Regions from separate parts of the Homo sapiens genome. Here all the other regions are linked to region 1. Evidence: promoter capture Hi-C in 16 types of primary human blood cells and fetal thymus (Javierre and others, 2016). All regions are on one chromosome and are shown on one strand. The core of a region is centred on a gene start or on the middle of the fragment in contact, and the rest is flanking DNA. Distances in the headings are between cores, read along the strand shown.

Region 1 (4,293 bases), core at 858-3,357:
TTTTCTGCCATCAACGCAAATCCTGTGTGCAGTGCAAGCGGACATAAAGCCAGGCAGAAGAACTGCCAGAGGGCCAAGGAGGTCCCCACAGACCTCAGGCCCAAAGTTGCCATGTTAAATGTTCATGAATACTGCCAGGCACTGTTCTTACTGTTTACCACTCATTCATTCATACAGTCCTGCCAACAATCCTGTGAGGTAGGAGCCAATGTTATCCGCACTCTCCAGATAAGAAAACCAAAGCACAGAGAAATGAAGAAATTGCCCAAAGTTGAAATGCTAGTGGATGAAAAACGTGAACCAAAGCAGTCTGACCCCAGAGTCTGCACTCTGCATAATGCTATAGCCCTCTTGGGAATTAAAAAACCGGCGCTGTATAGCAGATGGCTGCCCGACACTTCTATAAAAAAACCTATGCATTTATCTTCCGTTGTAACCTTCTGAAAATGCTTAGAAGGCGAGTTCCTAGAGGAAAATTCACTACACAAGTATTTCTTGGAGGCCGGGCGCGGTGGCTCACGCCTGTAATCCCAGCACTTTGAGAGGCCGAGGTGGGCGGATCACGAGGTCAGCAGTTCGAGACCAGCCTGGTCAACATGGTGAAACCCAGTCTCTACTAAAAATACAAAAATTAGCTGGGCGTGGTGGCGGGCACCTGTAATACCAGCTACTCAGGAGGCGGAGGTTGCAGTGAGCCAAGATCCTGCCATTACACTCCAGCCTGGGCAACAGAGCAAGACTCCGTCTCAAAAAAACAAAAATCAAATGTTTCTTGGAGGCTGGAGAGCAATCAAAAGAACAGGTATGCTGAACTTAGTAAACTCTCCTCAAAGCCCCATGCTGGGGAGATTGAGGCTTCCTTCAGAGATGACATTTGGGTGACAGCAACACAGGATGAACCTAGAAGTTTCATCTTTCTAATAGAAACTATAGGAAGAGGACAGAAGAAAAAGGGTGGTGGTCTCAGAACAATTTGTATTAAATAAATATTGCTGAGCTCCTACGTGTTAGGCCCTATACCAGATAATTTAACACCATTGACCACCCCCCCACCCCTACTTTAGAGGCAAAAATTTGAAGCTCAGCCTACTCAAGCAGCTGACCTCATCATTTCAAAACAGATTTGATTTCCAGGGTTGCCTGCTGTCAGTCCAGCCTTCTTTCCATTATATTACAGCTGGGCAGCAGCCCGCAAAGATCAGGGGTTTGAGACCGTACATCATAATACCAAGACAACGAGTCTCAAAACACACTTTAAAAAATCGGGTTCTGTCAGAAGCTCAAGAAGGGAAGAGGCCCGAGGCTCGACCTGCATCACCTCCCTGGAAAGCCAGGGATGAGATACCCTGGCTTTAATAAATGTTTTTTTTTTTAAGAGCAGAGCGGAACCAGGAGGAGAAACTGAGCCGCTCAGCAAAAACGAAGTAACAGCTGTACTAGTCACAGGGGCAGGATAGGGAGGTTCCAAGAGGGCACTCAGAAGGGGCTCTGTGGTTGGCAGGCCACTACAGATCATAAGCCGTCCATCGCTGAACAGGGGGTGGGGTAGATTTAAGATCAGAGATCAAATCTACTTCTCTATCCTAGCCTCCAGTTTCACAAAAAAGGAAAGATAACCTATGCACTGTGAATTCCTAAGAACAGGGGCCAAACACCGCTCAGCCTGGTACCCCTAAGACCTCACTCAAAAAGTCAGGGAGTTTTCGGCCACTTCAGAAAGACTTTGTTGTTACCCCTCCGTCTTAACCCAGGTGAGTTAAGTGACAATCAAATTCACCCAGCTCATGGGCACTGAGCAGGGCCGAGGGCCAAGGACCTCACCCACAAGGTCGTGTCCCGCGTTCAGTAGCGTGCGGGACGCGGGGCCCCCGAAAGTGGATTCCTGCCCCGCCCAGCGGAGGGACGGCAACAGCAGGAAGGGACTAAGAGAGGTCTCTTCCGGGAGGCCCCCCGAAGGCTGGACCTAGTCCGAACCGGCTCCGGAGGGCCGCAGGAACCTATGAAACACGCCGCTCACCTGCAATGGCCTCGGCCGGCCGGGATGGCAACAGATGGTGCGTGCCGGGGACCGCGTTAGCAGCAGCACTCTTGAGAAACCAGGAAAAGAGGAAACATGCGCGCGCAGCGGGCGCCGCCGTAAACACGACCGGCGCTGTCGTAAACTGCTCTCCCGCTTCCTCTGGGTTGGGCGGAAGAACTCACGAGCCGTAAAGCGAAGGTCCACCCGGAAATCCGTTACTGCGTTTCGCCAGGCGTCCTCATTAGCCTCCGAGGCGCCGAGACGCGAGAGGTGTGATTGGCACTACGTCAGGCGGTATCCGGGGACGCCCAAAGAGGGCGTTCATCACTGAAACTTGGCGGCCGCGCAATCGAAGCTCGAGGCGGGGAGCGACTGGCGCCCTTCTGTGTCCCACAATGCTTCGCGGCGCGCCTCAGCCCCCATGTATCCCACCGTCACCCGCGACTCCCCGCCTGTTCTACCTGCCTGCTTAATGTGAAACTCAGCGCAGGGGAGGTCCGTCGGTGTCTTAGGCGGTCCTTATTGTTACTCCTCCGCCTTTATAGTTGTGGAAACTGAGGCTCAGAAGTGCCAAGTGACCTGCCTAGATCAGACTGTTAGTTTAGGGTTCTAACCGCCAGAGTTCAAACCATACTTCCGCAGTTCTCAAACTTAATTGTAGGACAGGGATTTCTGGAACAGTGTTTTTATTTATTTTTATTTATTTTTTGAGACAGGGTTTCGCTCTGTCGCCCAGGCTGAAATGTAGTGGCAGGATCACGGCTTATTGCACCCTCGACTTCTCAGGTACAAGCGATCCTCCCAGTTCAGCCTCCCGAGTCGTTGGTGTACACAGGCACGCACAACCACGCCTGCCTAATTTTTGTATTTTTGGTAGAGATGGGGTTTTGCTATGTTGCTCAGGCTGGTCTCAAACTCCTGAGCTCAACAGTCCACCCACTGGGGCTAGGGTTACAGGCATGAGTCACCGTACCCGGCCAGCTAATGATTTTTAAAAATTTTGTAGAGACAGCGTCTCACTATGTTGCCCGGGCTGGTCTTTAACTCCTGGTCTAAAGTGGTCCTCTCGCCTCAGCGTGCGGAGCAGCTGAGGCTACAGGTGCATGCCACCATGCCTGGCTAATTTTTTTTTTTAGACGGAGTCTTGCTCTGTCTTCCAGGCTGGAGTGGAGTGCAGTGGCGCTATCTCAGTTCACTGCAACCTCCGCATCCCAGGTTCAGGTGATTCTCCTGCTTCAGTCTCCCGAGTAGCTGGGATTGCAGGCGTGTACCAACATGCCCGGCTAATTTTCCTTTTAGTAGAGACGGGGTTTCACCTTGCTGACCAGGCTGGTCTCGAACTCCTGACCTCAGGTGATCTACCCACCTCGGCCTCCCAAAGTGCTAGGATTACAGGCGTGAGCCACTGCGTCCGGCTGCCTGGCTAATTAAAAAAAAAAAAAAAAACTTCTGTGGAGACGAAGTCTCATCATGTTGCCAAGGCTAGTCTCAAACTCCTGGGCTCAAGCAGTCCTCCTGTCTCGGTCTCCCAAAGTGCTGGGATTACGGGCGTGAGCCACCACACCTGACCAGGATAGTATTTTTAAAAATTCAGATTCTGGGTCTCATTTTGATAGATTATACGGATATGTTTATGCTGGAGCCCAAGAGCTCCGCATTAGCTGTGATTCTGAAGTGACGACTCAGGAACTGCTTTACTACAGTAGATAACAGTGCTGTCCTCTCAGCAACTCCCAGGCTATGGAGTTCCTCCTGGTGTCTTTCTTTCGGAATTTTAAAACAATGAAAGATAATCTGAGGGCATGACTTTATTCAAACCTCAGATCCTTTCTACCTGACATAGGTTTCCTTAGCCGCCTAGTATGTCTCCTTTATTAGAAAATATACCTGAAGTCTAGGCTCTGCCACATTCTTTTTTTTTTCTTTTCTTTTCTTTTTTTTTTTTTGAGACGGAGTGTCGCTCTGTTGCCAGGCGGGAGTGCAGTGGCGCGATCTCAGCTCACTGCAACGTCCACCTCCTGGGTTCAAGTGATTCTCCTGTCTCAGCCTCCTGAGTAGCTGGGAATACAGGCATGCGCCACCATGCCCAGCTAATTTTTATATTTTTAGTAGAGACAGGGTTTCACCATGTTGGCTGGGATGGTCTCAATCCCTTGACCTTGTGATCCCCCCGCCTCGGCCTCCCAAAGTGTTGGGATTACAGGCATAAGCCACTGTGCCCAGCCAGCTCTGCCACTTGATAGCTATGTGTGGCCTTCACATTCCTTGCCTTG
Region 2 (4,293 bases), core at 676-3,175, 390 kb before region 1:
CCCCAAGCAGGGCTGACATTTGTCAAGTCCTCCTGCTGTCTGCTGACATCATCACCATCACCTTTACCACTGTTCAGACAAAAACTTCAGACAGGAACTTGCTCCCAAAGCGAGAAAGGAGCCAGGAGACCAAGGAATGACTCGAATAAGTCCAGCTTGGTGAGTAGGTGAGTTTATTAGGACTTACACACAGGGCACTCAGCAGGATGGCTCTAGAGATCCGGCCTCCCCCAGTCTCTAAACTGCTTTTCAGTTAATTTTCTGTCTCTTTGCCTGCTGTATATGAGTAATGAGACTGTTTTTCTTGGTAGGTTCTCGCATACTCTCCAGGATGTTTGGGTTTTTAGAGACACCTGGTCCTCAGCTGGGGACAATGGCCATGGCTCATTACCTGGCCTTCAGGGTTCAAGCAGGGGACATATACCCCTAAATAACCTAAAGGGGATCCATCACACTACAACCACCACCTCCACCGCCATCATCAAGAAGCCACTGGCTGACTGAGATACACTTCCAGGAGGACAAGACAGAGTGGATGCTGGAAAGACAGGGCAGGGGACCATCACCAGGGAAAGACTTCATTCTTGGAAGGACATCGAACCGGGGGCAGGTCGGTAGTGGAGCCGCTGTTTCTTCTGCTGTATCCAAAAGTTCTAACTCTTCGGCTTTCTGCATTTTCAGCTCTTTCTTTTCCTGGCCTTCTCATTGCTGGTTCCTGCACACCTCCCCTCTATTCCTCCCCCCAATATATTCGTTAGTCTAAAGGAAATTTCTTCTTCCTATTCCCCACACTCTCCAGTCCCCTCTCCTCCCTTATTCCAGGCTCCAGCATTCCTGCCTTCTCCTTGGTGCACTTGCCATCTGCATTAACCCCTCCCCTGCTGTGCTCAGCTACAGAAATGCCAAAGTCACTAACACTCAGCTCCATAAACTTTACCTTGCCCTCTTTATCCCCCTAATAAAATGCCTGCATTTTGTCGTGGCCTGTGTATGGCTCACCTCCCCTGCTGGCTGCACTGGTCTGGGGTCAGTGGGTATGGCATGGATTCAGACGCTGATAGATCTGAGTGAGCTCCATTAGATTCTCCTCCAGCTCCTGAGCCTGCCGCCTCAGCTCCTCAGCAGATGCAGACTTTGCCCCCTCATGCAAGTGCTTTGACTCGTATACAAGGTTGACCACATCCAGTGCAAGGAAGATGCCTGAAGTGGTCGCACTCAGGATCCGGGCTCCTCTGCTCACTGCCCGGGTGGTGCCTGCAATCGTTCTCTCTGCTTGACCACCACTTCCAGCTGAGATTCGCCAGGTGGTCACAGGGAGTCGGGCCCTGGCTCTGGCTTGCCTGATGGCACGGATTTCACTCCCAATGGTTTGTGTGGCTTCGTAATAATTATTAAGAAGGGAAAGTAAGTTGGGTGTGATGTCACGCATAACTTCCTTAAATACCTTCAATCGGTCAATGCTGGTTGCAGTCAGCCTGCTGGCTTCAGCTTCTGCTGATGATGTGTATGAGTGCTCCACGATGCTGGTGGTGATCCCAGTCACAGCAGACGCTGCTCCCAGCCCTACCCCAGCTGCAGTAAGGGCCAGACTCGTCCCTGCTGTAAATGGTGCCAAAACAAGACCAGCAAGGGACATGATGCCAGAGGCAGCGCCAGTGGAGCTGGACACCACATTGGAGATGGTGCAGCCTCTGTGGACCTCTTCAATACCATTTGCAAGGGCACGAAGCTTTTCTATGGACTCCTGGATCTTCCTCTTGACTTGGGGAAACTCTTTCAAAAACCATTCCCTAAACTGCTCATCTTTCTGCTGCACATATTCGTCCTCAATAGCTGCATATGTTCTAAGCTTCTTCAGAGCTTCGTAGAGAGCATCTGCCTCATCCCTGTACCAATAAAGGACAGATGATTAAGAAAGGCAGCTTACTTATCTGTAAAATCAGCTCAATAAGATCTGTTCTACATAAATCACAGAGCTATTACTATGAGTCAAATGGAAATAAAGCTTTAAATTTTAAATGGAAAAATTTAAAATAATTTTTCCAAGGTTAAACATGTTTTGTATATCATAGATATGCCACAGTACTTATTCTGTATGGGAATAAAAAACTTAAAGTCATCTTCAGATGCTCTTTAGTGGTAGGTATTCGATAAAGATGGCTCCTCAAGCAAGAGAGGTCAACATCATCCCTCCAATAGTGTGTGGAGAGGGGAAATTTTGTAGATGAACAAAGAGAAGTGGGTTCGGAGCAAAAAGACCTTCATTCAGAGGATCATAGAACAGTGAAGGATTAACTTTATTAGAAGAGAGGTCGTTCTTTTGTCTTTGGGCCCTGGGAAGGGATCTCTGGGGCCCTGGAATGTCCTGCCTGGTAGGAACATCTTTGTTTCCCTGGTGGTTTGGCTACAGCACAGTATAGCAATGTTATGGGTGATGGGTTTTGGGGCTATTACGTATCTTTTCTGCCTTCCAAAGGAACTGGGAACTAAGGGTGTTAGACCTCAGGGAGGGGCTGGGGACTCCATGTCAGCCATCAGGACAGCTTGTGATCCAGCCCCAGAAAGAGCTCTGTACATTGAGGCATAGGTTGAGAAAGACTTTCTCCTTGGCCAAACTCCAGTCAGGCTGCTCTGAGCCTTTTCTCCTCTAGGCGCTGACCTTCCATGCCCATCCCGTGCTTGCTGGGCCTGTACTGCCCCAGTTCAGCAAGAATCCCCCAAGGCAGTTAGGGAGGGTCCTCCCCACTTGCTGTCTGAGCATTCTTGCTGTCTGATCACGGTCTTCACCCGCTCCTTACCTGCCTTTAGTTGAGCAGCTTGTTAGGCCAGTTTAGCAGAAACCCCCCATTCTGGTGTCTCCAGTCAGAACTGGTCCATCTCCCACTCCTCACCCTGGTGTTGGCTGTGACTCCCCCTCTGTCTTTACTATATTGGGAGCTGGGCTCAGTCTCCCTCCCCTGTAACACAATCCTGAATAAAGGCTTCCTGATCTAATGTGATTCACAGGAATTTTTCCTTAACTGGGTGAGCTTCTCTGGTTGGCAACACCCCATGTGTTTTGTCCCACATTCACACAGGAGAACACAGCGTCCTGAGGACAACGAAGCTTCACACCTGAAACCCTCCCAGACTCTGCCCTGTGTGTCTCTTCCTTAGGCTGATTTTAATCTGTGTTCTTTCCCTGTGATAAACCACAATCGTGCAATAACAGTTATCAGTGAGTTACGTAAGTCTTTGTAGTGAATTATCAAACCTGAGTGGGGGCTTAAGAAACACCTTCAAATCTGCAACTGGTGTCAGAAGGAAGGGTGCCTTCAGACATTGCATTTTGACTAACTCTGAGTCCTTAAGCTATCAAATAAAACCTCAGACTGGAAGAGATCACCTTGCCTGGCATGTTCTCTCTTCCAATGCCACATGCCCTTTGATCTTCTGACTGAAGGCCACTGGGTCCAGCCACTGCCCCCTTTGACTGAAAAGTGAAAGGCCTGGCTATTAGTCCTGGCTGCACATGAACTCTCAAGCCACTTGACGGCCTCCTGACCTGGCACCTCCAAGCTTCAGGGTCTCACTGTCACATGTCACCAGCCAAACTAATGCCTTAGCAGGTGACAGCTTCACCTGTGTGCATGCCAATGCCATGTGCAATTTCATGGAACCTCTTATGGACTCATGAGACTTTGAAAATCATCTCTATAAATCACTAATGCTGAAAAGACCTGCATTTGGACAAGATGATAGAGAAAGTGTTTTTCTCTTTGGTTGGGGACTTGTGAGTCTCCTGAGAACCCTTCAAATTACCCAGTTGGCAGACACTTGTTCCAACTCTCCAAGCTGGCCCGAAGAAACACTTCCTCTACTCTATGTAGAACAGAAGAGGGTCCCAAATGGCAGTTCAGAATGCCCCAGTTCCCAGGCATGCTGTCAGGGAAACAGTCACCCATGGCCCACTATGCCCATCAGTGATGGGATCAAATCAGGGAGGGAAGAAATATCCCTCTCCCACTCACTGGTCCTCTGCAAGTCCATGGCCACGTTACCTTTCATGCCCTCAGTGCCTCCCTCTTCTCACCCTACTCCCAGCCTTGGTGCCCGAGCCTTCCTGCTGCTCCTCCAACCCAGGCCCACCCCTGCCCCATCCTGACCCCTGGCTCTGCCCCTGAAACGTCTCTCTGGGTCTTTGGATGGCATCATGCTACTTGGTTCCCCACCTCTGACCTGCTGTTCATTCTCAGGCTTTAACCACACGCCCATCTGATTGAACTACTATTAGCATTGGAGAGATGGCAGGTC
Region 3 (4,293 bases), core at 1,334-3,833, 370 kb before region 1:
AAACCCTGAGGCTCAGAGAGGGGAAGTGACTTCCCCAGTGTCACACACCTCTTGGAGGGCAGGGGGAAGGTCAACACCTGACCTCCTGACTCTGACATTGAAGCAAGAAAGTATAATGTTAATAATCCAAAATCTTCCAGGTTTGTTTCTGCTTCTACAAACACAGAGGGCTAAGCTCACGCTCCCACAGTTATGCTCACGCTTCCACAGTTTGACTTTTAATCTCATGATTGTCAAGCTGGGATCATGTGGCAGACACCATTCTGCAACATGCCGTTCTCACTGCCCCTGTCTGGGCCATCTTTCCCACTAGGGAACAGCACAGCTTCTTTCTTCTCTATCACCCAGAGGCCTGAAAAGGAACCAGGTGAGTGTCAGGGACATGGAGTCCTGTGATCTACCTGCTCAACTTCCTGACATGGGACCCTCAGCGAGTCACTCATCTCCCATGGCCTCAGTTTACCCACAGGGCCTGGCTCAAGTAGGTGCTCAGAGTCAGGGTGGGTGAAACAACCTCTGGGTTCCTTGTTATCTCTTTTCGCTCTCTCTCTCTTTTTTTTTTTTGAGACAGAGTCTCACTCTGTCAGGAGTGCACTCAGGCTGGAGTGACTGGTGCGATCTCGACTCACTGCAACCTTCATCACCTGGGTTCAAGTGATTCTCATGCCTCAGCCTCCCAAGTAGCTGGGATTACTGGCTTGTGCCACCACGCCCAGCTAATTTTTTGTATTTTTAGTAGAGGCAGGGTTTCTCCATATTGGCCAGGCAGGTCTCGAACTCCTAACCTCAAGTGATCTACCCGTCTCGGCCTCTCAAAGTGCTGGGATTACAGGCATGAGCCACCGCGCCCAGCCAGGTTCCTTGTATCTCAAAGGAAATCCTCTGTCCCCATCGGGCCTCAGCAGCAGCACCCTGGGGCCAGCCTCAGGGTGGCCAGGCCACAAGAAGGACAGGCCAGGCTCTGGATCACCTCCTGTCCTCCACCTTCTCTGGTTCCTCCAAATATTCTAAAGGAATGGACAGTCCCAACATCTGCCTTCCTTCTGGGGTCACCGGGCCATGTCTCACGCAGGCTGGAACTAGAGCTGAGCCCTAGGAAGCTTTGTGAACCCAGCTGAGCTGATTCTGCCTCTGTCTCTACTGTTTGGGGGCCCAGAGAGAGGGAGGGAGAAGTCCAGCTAAAACCTGGGTGCAAATTCAGGCTCTGCCATGGACCGAGATGTGACCTCAGTCAGTTACCTAACCTCTCTGAGCTCATCTACAAAAGGTGAATGACCCTTCTCTTATAGAGCTGCTGTGAGGATGGGGAGATGGGGAAGGTCAGACCACCCCTAACTTACCAAGGAAGCTTCTCTTGAAAGAGTGTGAGCAAGATCCAGCTGTTCTGAGCTGTGTGGATCCCACCTCCAGCCGTGCATCTGCATAATAACCAGACACGTTCTCCAGGCTCTGAGATATACCCTGGAACCCAAAAGGGAAAGTGAAAGTCACAACTTGGCAGCAGCTCCTGATCAAACATGCAAAACAGGATGCTTCCCAGCCCCACCCTTGGCCCAGTCCCATCCTTGGTCCAGCAGCACCCTTGGTCCCACCCTCCTGCTGATCCAAGAGCAGCCCCAGACGTCCTTCTTGGCCAACCCACCTGCCTCCCATACTTAGGGTTGGGGGTTTGCTGTGTCTTCAGGAAGAAAGACCTACCACTGAAAGACTATGAGACCCTCCAGATTACTCCCCACCCCCAATAACACCACACTCCCCAGATGCCCACCTCACTCCCTCCATGCCATCAGCATTACCACAGTCCATCACACATGCCGGGTGGACGCTTATTGCATATTGATTGTATTGCTGTTGGGGTTATTTTGTTGTTTTGTTTTGTTTTGTTTTTGAGATGGGGTCTGGCTCTGTCACCCAGGCTGGAGTGCGGTGGCACAATAATAGCTCACTGTAGCCTCAAATTCCAGGGTTCAAATGAACCTCCTGAGTAGCTGGGACTACAAGCATGAGCCACTCGGCCTGGCTACTTTTAAAAAATGATTTTGAAGGGGTGAAATCTTACTATTTTTACCAGGTTGGTTTCAAACTCTGGCCTCAAATGATCCTCCTGCCTCAGCATGAGCCACCGTTCCAGACCTGCTCTTGTCGAACGCCATACCTGTGTGGCTTCTGGACACTTCCTTATGTGGGTTCTTCTGCCAGGAGCACCTGCTACCTTCACCTGGAAAAGTCACGCTCCTCTATCAGAATGCAAATCTAGCATTTCCTCCCCTGAGAAGCCCCCTAGCATCCTCTTCAGCAGAGCCCACTGCCCCATGTTCCACTCCTGTGGCACTTTTGTTAGGCTGTTGTAATTGGCCACAGTCCCAGGTTGACTGAACAAAGTGGGGGGCGGATGTGGGAGTAAAAGACAAAGACAAAAGAGTATATTAGGAAGAAGGGGTCAGGGGGTTCCTTGCTTCTAGTGAACAAGGGCTCTGAGCTTTTCAAGCTCTCTGAGTTTATTAGGTAAAAGAGATGACGAGAAAAAGGTGGGGGGGTGATTGTCAGGTAATTGTCAGTCAGCCGTTTGGTTCACAGCAGGCTTGCAAGACTGCATCCTTCAAATAATAGGTGCTAGATATCCCAACAGATAACTTCAAGGAGCCCAGCACCAGGGAGTGATGGCCCTCAGGAAACCTTCTGGCGGCGGGTGCAGTGTGAGTTTACCCACATCCCGCATTCATGATAAACAGTTTGCTGTTTGATCATATAGCCTCCAGTGAAATGCTGAGTTGGTCACAATCCCTTTGGCCTTTTCAGCTCCCAACAGGCAGTTAAGTAGACATTAGCAGCTGGGAGGAGAAAAGAGAGCAGAAAGCCTGTCACTGCAACAGCTCCTGGCCCACCTAAGTTCAGCCCCAGAGCCATTCTAAGACCCCCCTAACTGATGAAGTTGGTGGTATAGTTTGTGGCCAGCACATCCTGAAGAAAGAGAAACTAGGGCACAGGTGGAAATTCCCTAAAGGGGCACATGCCCAGTAACATGAAACTGTGCCCTCAGGTCACCCCAAGTTCATTATACCATCATTATAATAAAATGTGGTTTTATTATACAAAAGCCCCAGAGTGGGCTTTTCTGTGAAAATTATGGGTAAAAACATGCATTGCCTAATTTTAGTTATATAACCATAAACTGCCAATCAGATGACATCGTCCTTTACTCAGACACAGCCCCAACCTCAACTTCTCTCCACAAACCGCACAGAAGCACCTTAAACTCTATATAGAGGGGCTGACTTCACTTCACAGAAATTAGCCCACTGTCCCTCTGAGAGTGTCTAACTGTGCTTCAATACACTTTGCTTTGAGCTTGCATTTTGGAGTTAGCCTGCAATTGTTTGCTCACTCTCAGAAGAACTGAGATTACTGGTCCAGAACTCCAGCTCTGTTAATCTCCTCAGTTAAAGGATCCATCCCAGCGCAGAATTCCTGGTAATATCTTAGTGCTGTGACCTGGATGATTTACGTTCAGCATGGCTTTTAATATGTGCTTGATTTTAGCTTGGGGAACTGAAACATATTTTGCTAAAATGCTTCCTTTCGCTTTGGGTCAAGATGTTTGTGCTATGTTTCGCTGCTTGGCTAAGAGAAGTTGCAATGAGTGTTGTATTTGCTGCATTAGAGAGGGGGTATATCCCCCAACATGCCACCAATAACTTTTAGAGAAGGGCTTAGAGAAATCTTCTCTGGATTTAGGTTTAATTAGCTGTTTAACGTGATTAAACAACTTCATTAGGTTGTAGTGGCCATTGAAGCCCAGAGCTTGTTAACAGCCCAGGGAAGCTTTGAGAGGCAAAATGGTTTCTTATGCTCTGGCCACAGAGCCAGGAATCACCCTCAACTCCCTTTAGACTGGGCATTTTGGCTGGATGCAATTTTTAAAATTACTGATTAAGAGAGCCGATTGGGATTCAGATCATGGGATAGCTTGGATAAATGCTAAGTTTAGAGGTTTACAGCCGGGAACGAAGGGTAGGCCCATAGTGGGTCATAACCTTTGGAGAACTCCCCAAATCGTCCTCGCCCACCCTTTTGGGCACTCACCCCACCCGAGGCCCCCTCCCTGCCACACTGCCATAGGCAGCAGCACAGCTTCTGAAGATCGTTTTGCAATTTTTTTTCCTTTTTCTTTTGAACAGAGCTTCATTTCTTTTCTTTCTTTCTAACCACTTTTATTCAGAATCTAGGGGACAAATGTTTTCAGCAAGGCTGTAGTACCCACTGTAGGAAGGGGTCTCCATGCTGGGCACAGCC
Region 4 (4,293 bases), core at 1,263-3,762, 310 kb before region 1:
CATGGTGAAACCCCGTATCTACTAAAAATATAAAAATTAGCTGGATGTGGTGGCCTGTGCCTGTAATCCCAGCTACTTACGAGGCTGAACCAGGAGAACTGCTTGAGCCTGGGAGGCAGTGATTGCGGTAAGCATAAATCCCGCCATTGCACTCCAGCCTAGGTGACAGAGAGAGACTCCATCTCAAAGAAAATAAAAAAAATAAAAAACTAAAAAACCACACATTAAAATCTATTGCAGGTTTTACCGCCTGTTCTGGATTCTGGTTTGATATTTGTGTGATTTTGCCTTTCACTGATCCTTCTCCCCTCCATGGATAGCTATTGATTTCTGTCTTCTTTCTGTGGGGGACATAGAGGGAATTTTTATCTTTGTGTATAGGAGATCAGCTATTCTGTATCTTAAAAACAAACAAAAAAACACCTCCCTGCCACCTCCTGGAAGATCCCTCGGGCGCCCATGGTTAAGTCACAACCTTACTTCAGGCTTATTGGTTTCACTAGGAAGGTTGCCTTTGGTAGAATTCAAACACCAGAAATATCACCTGTATGTCCTGGCTAACATCTGGTAGTAAGAGGTGTGAAAGGATTTTTTCAGAGCTCTAAAGTCACAAGTCAACTTCACTGAAACTGATATTAAGGCTGTGTATGTATATATGTATCTATCTATCTATTTATTGAGAGAGAGAGAGTAGTTATGGCCATTATTCTCTCTCTATGTCTCAGTCACCTCAATTCTGTCTGTTTCTCTGTTTACTTCTGTCTTTCCCTCCTTCCTCTTGCCACCCTCCATGCAATCAAGAGAGGACCTACAGTAGTTTCTAACAGCTGAGATCCTTTGGGAAAAACAGAAAAAAGCACCAGAGTCCCTGCTGGGGAGGAACCTCTGTTTTCCTCATGCGACCTCAAGAGTTGGAAGTGGACAGATTCCTGGCAAATTCAAAACTGTTCTCTTCTATCCTAAGGCATATCTCTGTTTAAAGTTCTTTTCCTGGACCTCTTAACTAAAATTTGCTTATATCGTTTTGTAATCAGGCAGCTTAACTTCAAACTGCATTTTAAACTGGGTTTTCCTTCTTCTTTGGTTTCCAGATTTAACCTTGAAGCAAACTGCAGAAGCCTTTTTTCTTAGACTTAAAATAGAGTCCATGCCCCTCCCTTTCTCACCATATATACCCCCTATATTTATCTAAGTTTGTGCTAGTGTCTAATCATGTGCTTTCTCAGAAGTTCCATAGGTTAATCTTGAGACACACAGGCCAAGCCTGGAGACCCAGCTACAAATTTCCAGAGAGTACTCAAGGCAGCTAGTTAGCAATCCAGCCATCGTTGAGATGACGCCAGCCCAAGATCCAGGTGGACTGGGACCCAGGAGAGCCACAGGGACAGGACATACACACATACACAATTCTAGCATGCTGTCCTTATCAAGCTTTCCTTTTTAAGCCCCGGCCTTTACCCAAAAACATCAAACTGGTTTCTTTCTTTCTTTTTTTTTTTTTCCAGTGAAAAGTTTCATTTTTTCCTTCAGCTGTTATTTTAAGTTCCGGGTACATGTGCGGGATGTAAGGTAAATGTGTGCCATGGTCCTTTGCTGCACAGATCAACCCATCACCGAGGTATTAAGCCTAGCATCCATTAGCTATTCTTCCTGATCCTCTCCCTCCCCCTGCGCCAACAGGCCCCAGTATGTGTTGTTCCCCTTGATGTGTCCCTGCGTTTTCATCATTCAACTCCCACTTATAAATGAGAACATATGGTATTTGATTTTCTGTTCCTGCATTAGTTTGCTGAGAATGACAGCTTCCAGCTCCGTTTATGTGCCTACAAAAGACATGGTCTCATTCCATTTTATGGCTGCAGAGTATTCCACAGGGTATATGTACCACATTTTCTTTATCCAGTCTATCATTGATGAGTATTTGGGTTGATTCCATGTCTTTGCTATTGTGAATAGTGCTGTAGTGAACATACATATGCATGTATCTTTACAACAGAGTGATTTATATTTCTTTGGGTATATACCCAGCAGAGGAATTGCTGGGTCAAAGGGGTTTCTTGGACAAATTGCCACCCTGTCTTCCACAATGGTTGAACTAATTTACACTCCCACCAACAAAGTAAAAGTGTTTCTTTTTCTCCACAACCTCGCCAGCATCGGTTGTTTCTTGACTTTTTAATGATTGCCATTCTGACTGGCATGAAATAGTATCTCATTGTGGTTTTGATTTGCATTTCTCTAATGGTCAGTGATGTTGAGCTTTTTTTCATGTTTGTTGGCCGTATGAATGTCTTATTTTGAGAACTGTCTGTTCATGTCCTTTGCCCATTTTATAATGGAGTTGTTTGGTTTTTTTTTCTTGCTAATTTGCTTATGTTCCTTGTAGACTCTGAATATTAGACCTTTGTCATATGGAGAGATTGCAAAAGTGATTGCTTTCCAAGGGAATCCAGCCACTTCCCCTTTACTCGTTTTGGTTAATAAAAACACTTTCTTTCTAGCAGACCTCGCTCTTGTTAATTGGATGATCCAGGTGGGGAGCATCCAGACCTGCGTTCGCTTCCAGTTGTTTTTCTTCCCTTGGTTTAAGCAAAATGATACAATATTTAGGCCAAATGTTTTAGTTCTACTTTGAGATGTAAAATCTCTATCTGATGTCACCTAAGATTTGTTCCTTTAGAGTGCGAACTTTGGGCCATCTGGCTGACAATTGCTGAGGCAATAAAACAGGTTATCAAGAAATTGGTGGGCTGGGCGTGGTGGCTCACACCTGTAATCCCAGCACTTTGGGAGGCAGAGGTGGGCAGATCACAAGGTCAGGAGATCGAGACCACCCTGGCTAACACGGTGAAATGCCGTCTCTACTAAAAATACAAAAAATTAGCCGGGCGTAGTGACAGGTGCCTGTAGTCCCAGCTACTCAGAGGGTGAGGCAGGAGAATGGTGTGAACCCAGGAGGCGGAGCCTGCAGTGAGCCAAGATGGCACCACTGCACTCCAGCCTGGGCGACAGAGTGAGACTCTGTCTCAAAAAAAAAGAAAGAAGGAAAGAAAGAAAGAGATAAAGAAAGAAAGAGAGAGAGAGAGAGAAAGAAAGAGAGAGAGAGAGAGAAAGAAAGAAAGAAAGAAAGAAAGAAAGAAAGAAAGAAAGAAAGAAAGAAAGAAAGAAAAAAAAAGAAAGAAAGAAATTAGTAATCTAAAGTGGGGGAGAAAAATTTGGAAAAGTGACAAATAAAAAATCTTACAAATCTACAGGATCTGGGTCTGTACGCATCTCTGTGTGTCTATGTATTTATATGTGTTATAGGTATATAATATTTCCCCATCAAAATATATAGAAGGGTCTAATTAATTGGCTTGCCAAAAAAAGCACTTAAATCCAATATTTTATCAGAAAAATAGAAACTTTCATTTGAATAGCATTCACTTCATGTGACTTTAATAATCTTTGCTAGAGACAGTTTAAAAATTATTGGTAAAATAGAAATGTCTTCAAAACTTAATTTAGATATCTGGGCTGAATTAGTCAAGCAGGTCAGATACTATTGTCTGCTAGATGTATTAGGATAAAAAAGTTTGCTTCTGTAATACTTTTAAAGCTTGCTTATCTCATCTGTAAACCTATGTGTCTTGAGAATCAAGCCTTTGGACTAACCCCAGGCATTGCCCTTCATCCTGGGATACGCATCTGGTGCATAATTAAAACTGTTTACCTCCTAGATTCTTCAATAAAAATAAGAGTTACCAAGAGTTCACATTACAATTAATGTATGTAATTAAAACATTACATCTATTGCTGCCTAGACCACCTTCTGGCTATACACAAAGTGTATTGTGATGGTTAATATGAGGTGTGAACATCACTAGACGGAGGAATGCCTAGATGGCTGGTAAAGGATTGTTTCTGGGCGTGTCTGTGAGGGTGTTGTCAAAGGAGATTGACATTTGGGTCCGTGAACTAAGAGAAGAAGACACACCCTGAATGTGGGCAGTACCATCCCATCAGCTGCCAGTGAGGCCAGAACAAAGCAAGCAGAAGAGAAAAGGGTGAGCAGCTTGCTCATCACTCTCTCTGTCTTCCCGTGCTGGATGCTTCCTTCCTCTCCTCCTGCCCTTGGACATCAGACTTCCTGGTCTTTGGCCTTTGGACTCTGGGACTTGCACCAGCGGCCTCCTGGAGGATTACAGGGCTTCATCCTAAGACCGAGACCTACGCAGTCGGCTTCTCTGGTTTTGAGGCTTTTAGACTTGGACTGAGTCACACTACGGGCTTCTGTCTTTCCCCAGCTTGCCA
Region 5 (4,293 bases), core at 1,235-3,734, 280 kb before region 1:
TGTTATAGAAATATGTTTTGTCATATTACCAGAATTACTTTTCCGGTTCCTTCTCATTTGGGTAGACTATTTCAGTGGAAAGATCTGAAACTCAACTCCTTCTGTTCAGGTTCTTTTGTCCCACGGGTTATTCCTTGATGTGGTACTCTCCTTCTCCTAGGAATAGGGCTTCCTGAGAGCCAGACTGCAGTGATTGTTATTGCTCTTCTGGGTATAGCCACCCACTGGGGCTATACCAGCCTTTGGGTTGGTGCTGGGGAATGTCTGCAAAGAGTCCTGTGATGTGATCATCTTCTGGTCTCCTAGCCATGGATACCAGCACCTACTCTGGTGTAGGTGACAGGCGAGTGAAGTAGACTCCGTGAGAGTCATTGGTTGTAGTTCTCTTTAGTGTGCTGTTTTCTCCAATGCTGGTTATGCTAGCAGTGAAGCTGTCATGTGGAGAGACTGAGGACCTCTGGTCAGTCAGGATGTTGCGGGCAGTGGTATTAGCTCTTGTCTTCTCCTTCCTGGGAATAGGGTTATTCTGTCATGAGTTGCTGTAATGGCCTGAGTTGGTTGGTCTCCAGCCAGGAAGTGGCACTTTCAAGAGAGCACCAGCTGCGGTAGTAGAAGGGAGATACAAGCTTGCCCTAGGTTGACCAGGGTAAGTATTCTAGTTTCTCAGGTGATTGGCAGGGCCATAAAGCTCCCACGAGTTTATGTCTTTTGTGTTCAGCTACCAGGATAAGTAGAGAAATACCATCAGGTGGAGGGCAGGGTTAGCTGGGTCTGAGCTCAGACTTTCCTTAAGCAGGGCTTGCTGCGGCCACTGTGAGGGATGCAGATTGTCCTAAGGCCAATGGGGTTTGTTACAGAGGGGATTATGGCTGCCTCTGCTGTGCCATATAGTTCGCCAGGGAAGTGGGGGATAGCTGGCAGCGAGAGGCCTCACCCAGATCACATGCAGTTGGCAAGGCTGGCCTTGCTCCCGCAGTGCCCCACTAACAATGCCAAGTTTAGATTCAGGCAGCCTGTGCGCAGAACTCAGACCTTGTCCCAGGCCATAAGCTTCTCCACTGAGAAAGCAAGCATGGCTTTCAGGCCTTGCCTCTCCCCATCTGCCCACAGTGTCAGTGGTGGCTCCTGGGCTCATATTTGCAGAAGTTCCTGTTCTCCCCCTGGATTCTGCTCAAGAAAATTCAAGCCCAGTAGAAATTATTAGAAAATCCATCTGGAAGCTTCTTTCACCCTGTGACCCCTCCCAAATTCTGCTGGCTGCTTTCCCCAAAGGCCTCTGTGAGATACCGCCAGGGATGGTGCCCTGGGCTTGAGCTGGACACTGGGAATGCCTACAGGATTCTTCCCACTTCTGCTTCTACTTTTACATTTTGCATGGTTCTCTGAATCCATTTCAGCTATGGGTAAGGTTAAATCCCTCTCCTGTAATCTGGATTTTCAGATTCCCCAGGGGCGATGTGTGTTTGGAGGCAGATTTTCCCTCCCTCACACTTTGGGAACTCCCAGTTTTTTGCCTGTCTCATAGAATTGGCAAGGAGCATGCCACTTCTTTCAAAGGATCTGTGAATTCTTTCAGTTTTCCTGGTACATTCCTGTGGTGGTTCTTGGCACACATTATTACATGATGTGGGTCTCCACATGCTGTCCGGTCCTTCCAAGTGGGAGCTGCATGTTAGCCCTGTCTCCTATCTGCCATCTTCCTCAGACTTCTAACATTAACTTTTAAAAAGCTTGGTGGGAAGAGACCAGGGCCAAAGTTCTCCTTCTTGGAGATGAAAGCCAAGAAGCACTTCCTTTGGGACAAGTCAGAAAAATCCTGACCAAATCAATGTGTGTTCCTGGCGATTCTGGCCCAGGCCTATTTCCTCCCCATCTGAGGAATTGCACAAACACAGCAGAACCCTTCTGCTGGCCCAGGACATGGAGAGGCTGGAGTGAAGTTGATCAGAGCTGGGATGGATCCTGGCTTCTGTCCCTGCACAGCTGTGGGCCTCTAGGATTATGCCTTGGAGACTGGCATCTGGCGTCTGGCATCTGTCCAATGGGAATAGTAATTCAATCATATAGGAGGATGGTGAAGGCCTTAGAGTGAACTCCAGGTCAAAGGTGGGGGACCAAGTACCATGATCCTGCCGAAAAGTCCAGATAGACCTGGACCAGGGGCAGAACCAGGGGTCAGGATGGGCATAAGTGGGCCTAATTGGAAGGTAAGTAGGAAGGCTGGGACACCAGGGCCAGGACTAGGGTGAGAGGAGGGAGGCACCAAGGACACCAAACGTAAGGAGGTCATTGACTTGCAGAGGACACATGAGTGGGAGAGGGATATTTCTTCCCTCCCTGATTTGATCCCATCAGTGATTGGCATAGTGGGCCGTGAGTGACGGTTTCCCCCACACCAAGCCTGAGAACTGTGAGAACTGTGGAGTTTTTGCGTGCCCTTTGGGACCCTCTTGTGTTCTACATAGAGTAGCCCCTGACCCTGGGAAAGCAGTGTGGCTTAGTGACCACTTCCGGAGTCAGAATGGGTGGCTGCCAATTTTTGTAATTTCAGGGGTTCTGAGGAAACCCATAAGTTGCCAACCAAAGAGGAAAACACTTCGTCTACCATCTTGTCCAAATTCAGGTCTTTTCAGCATTAGCAATTTATATAGATGGTTCTGAAAGTGTCTTGAGTCTTCTAGAGGCTCCATAAAATTGCACATGGCCTTGGCAAGCACAGAGGTGAAGCCATCACTCCTTAGGCATCGATTAGGCTGGTGACATCTGAAAGTGAGACCTGGAAGGTTGGAGGTGCAGGTGGTAGGTCAGGAGGCAGTAAGGTGGCTGGAGAATCCATGTGGACTCTCCAAAACTAATAGCCAGGTCTCCTCCTCCAGTCAACTGGTGCGGTGCTTGGAACCAGTGACCATCAGTCAGAAGGTCAAAGGGCATGAGGCATTGGAAGAGAGCAGATGCCAGGCAAAGTGATCTTGTGTAGGTCTGTTTTTGGTTTTGTTTGAATTCTGAGTACTCAGAGTTACCAAAACTGCAATGTCTGAGGGCACCCTTATCTTTGACACTAACTGCAAATTTAAGGGGATTCCTAAATCCGTCCTTAGATTTTATAATTCACTAGAGGAATTCACGTAACTCACTGAAAACTGTTATTGCATGACTGTGGTTTATCACAGGGAAAAAACACAGGTTAAAATCAGCCTAAGGAAGACACACAGGGCAGAGTCTAGGAGGGTTTCAGGTGTGAAGCTTCGTTGTCCTCAGGAGGCTGCGTTCTCCTGTGTCAATGTGGGACAAAACACATGGGGTGTTGCCAACCAGGGAAGCTCACCCAGTTAAGGAAAAATTCCTGTGAATCACATTAAATCAGGAAGAAAGCCTTTATTCAGGATTGTTGTTACAGGGGAGGGAGACTGAGCCCAGCTCCCAATACAGTAAAGACAGAGGGGGAGTCACAGCCAACACCAGAGTGAGGGGCAGCAGATGGAACAGGACTGACAGGAGGCACCAGAGTCGGGGGTTCATGCTAAACTGGCCTAACAGGATTTTCCCTAAAGGCAGGTCAGACACTCACCCATCAAGGGGCAGGTGAGGAGAGTGATCAGATAGCAAGTGTGCTCAGACAGTAAGAAGGGAGGACCCTCCCTAAACTGACTCGGGGGGATTCTTGCTGAGCCAGGGTTGTGCAGGCCCAGCAAGCACGGGATGGGCATGGAAGGCCAAGGTTGGTGCCTAGAGGAGAAGAGGCTCAGAAGAGCCCAACTGGAGTCTGGTCAAACAGAAAGTCTTTCTCAACCCATGCCTTAGTGTCCAGAGTGTTTGCTGGGGCTTGACCACAGGCTGCACTCATGGCTGACCTGGAGTTTCCAGCCCCTCCCTGAGGTCTCACACCTTTAGTCCCCAGATCCTCTGGTGGTGAGAAGAGATACCCAATAGCCCCAAACCCCCATCATCCATCACATTTGCTATACTGTCCTGTAGCCAAACCACCAGGGAAACAAAGACATTCCTACCAGGCAGGGCATTCCAGGGGCCTGGAGATCACTTCGCAGGGGTAGGGGACAATGGGAAGACCTCTCCTGGGATAAAGTTAATTCTTCACTGCGCAATTGTAGTGCAGTGAAGATTCTATTCCCAGAGGCCGGGGAAGGTTTGCAATTGCTTTGGTGCAGTGGGGCATGGGTAAACTTGCACCTTAGCTATAACAGCAGACAGAACAACCATAGTACAAATACAGGTAGTCAGTTGTGCAACTGTGTATTGGTAGACACAATGACAGCACATCACCGGCTAACCCCA

The links. Contacts are between HindIII fragments. The CHiCAGO score rates a contact against its expected background, and 5 or more counts as called.
Region 2: a fragment that was not itself captured here is called in contact with the fragment with the promoter of EIF3D in region 1 in 1 of 17 cell types (activated CD4 T cells); the score reaches 5.6 in activated CD4 T cells.
Region 3: a fragment that was not itself captured here is called in contact with the fragment with the promoter of EIF3D in region 1 in 3 of 17 cell types (naive CD8 T cells, total CD4 T cells and activated CD4 T cells); the score reaches 5.3 in naive CD8 T cells.
Region 4: a contact is called between a fragment that was not itself captured here and the fragment with the promoter of EIF3D in region 1, in 1 of 17 cell types (neutrophils). The highest score is 5.3, in neutrophils.
Region 5: a fragment that was not itself captured here is called in contact with the fragment with the promoter of EIF3D in region 1 in 1 of 17 cell types (neutrophils); the score reaches 5.0 in neutrophils.

Annotation. Positions count from the first base shown.
Region 1 is chr22:36,527,059-36,531,351 of GRCh38, forward strand. It overlaps EIF3D (eukaryotic translation initiation factor 3 subunit D), which reads right to left and starts at 2,108. Exons shown (of 15, transcript NM_003753.4): 1 at 2,018-2,108. RefSeq lists enhancers at 1,619-1,668, 1,979-2,378. The HindIII fragment of the contact is 11,469 bases long and covers 1-4,293 here.
Region 2 is chr22:36,140,173-36,144,465 of GRCh38, forward strand. It overlaps APOL3 (apolipoprotein L3), which reads right to left. Exons shown (of 4, transcript NM_145639.2): 4 at 157-1,886. The coding sequence ends at 1,028. Among named protein-coding and RNA genes, the nearest start is that of APOL3, 18 kb to the right of the region's middle. RefSeq lists enhancers at 781-1,282, 1,283-1,782. The HindIII fragment of the contact is 156 bases long and covers 1,848-2,003 here.
Region 3 is chr22:36,159,329-36,163,621 of GRCh38, forward strand. APOL3 (apolipoprotein L3) reads right to left here and starts at 1,427. Exons shown (of 4, transcript NM_145639.2): 1 at 1,341-1,427. RefSeq lists enhancers at 2,346-2,919, 2,871-3,030. The HindIII fragment of the contact is 2,474 bases long and covers 1,347-3,820 here.
Region 4 is chr22:36,216,553-36,220,845 of GRCh38, forward strand. No RefSeq gene overlaps it. Among named protein-coding and RNA genes, the nearest start is that of APOL4, 17 kb to the left of the region's middle. The HindIII fragment of the contact is 2,167 bases long and covers 1,430-3,596 here.
Region 5 is chr22:36,243,234-36,247,526 of GRCh38, forward strand. No RefSeq gene overlaps it. Among named protein-coding and RNA genes, the nearest start is that of APOL2, 5.9 kb to the left of the region's middle. The HindIII fragment of the contact is 1,513 bases long and covers 1,729-3,241 here.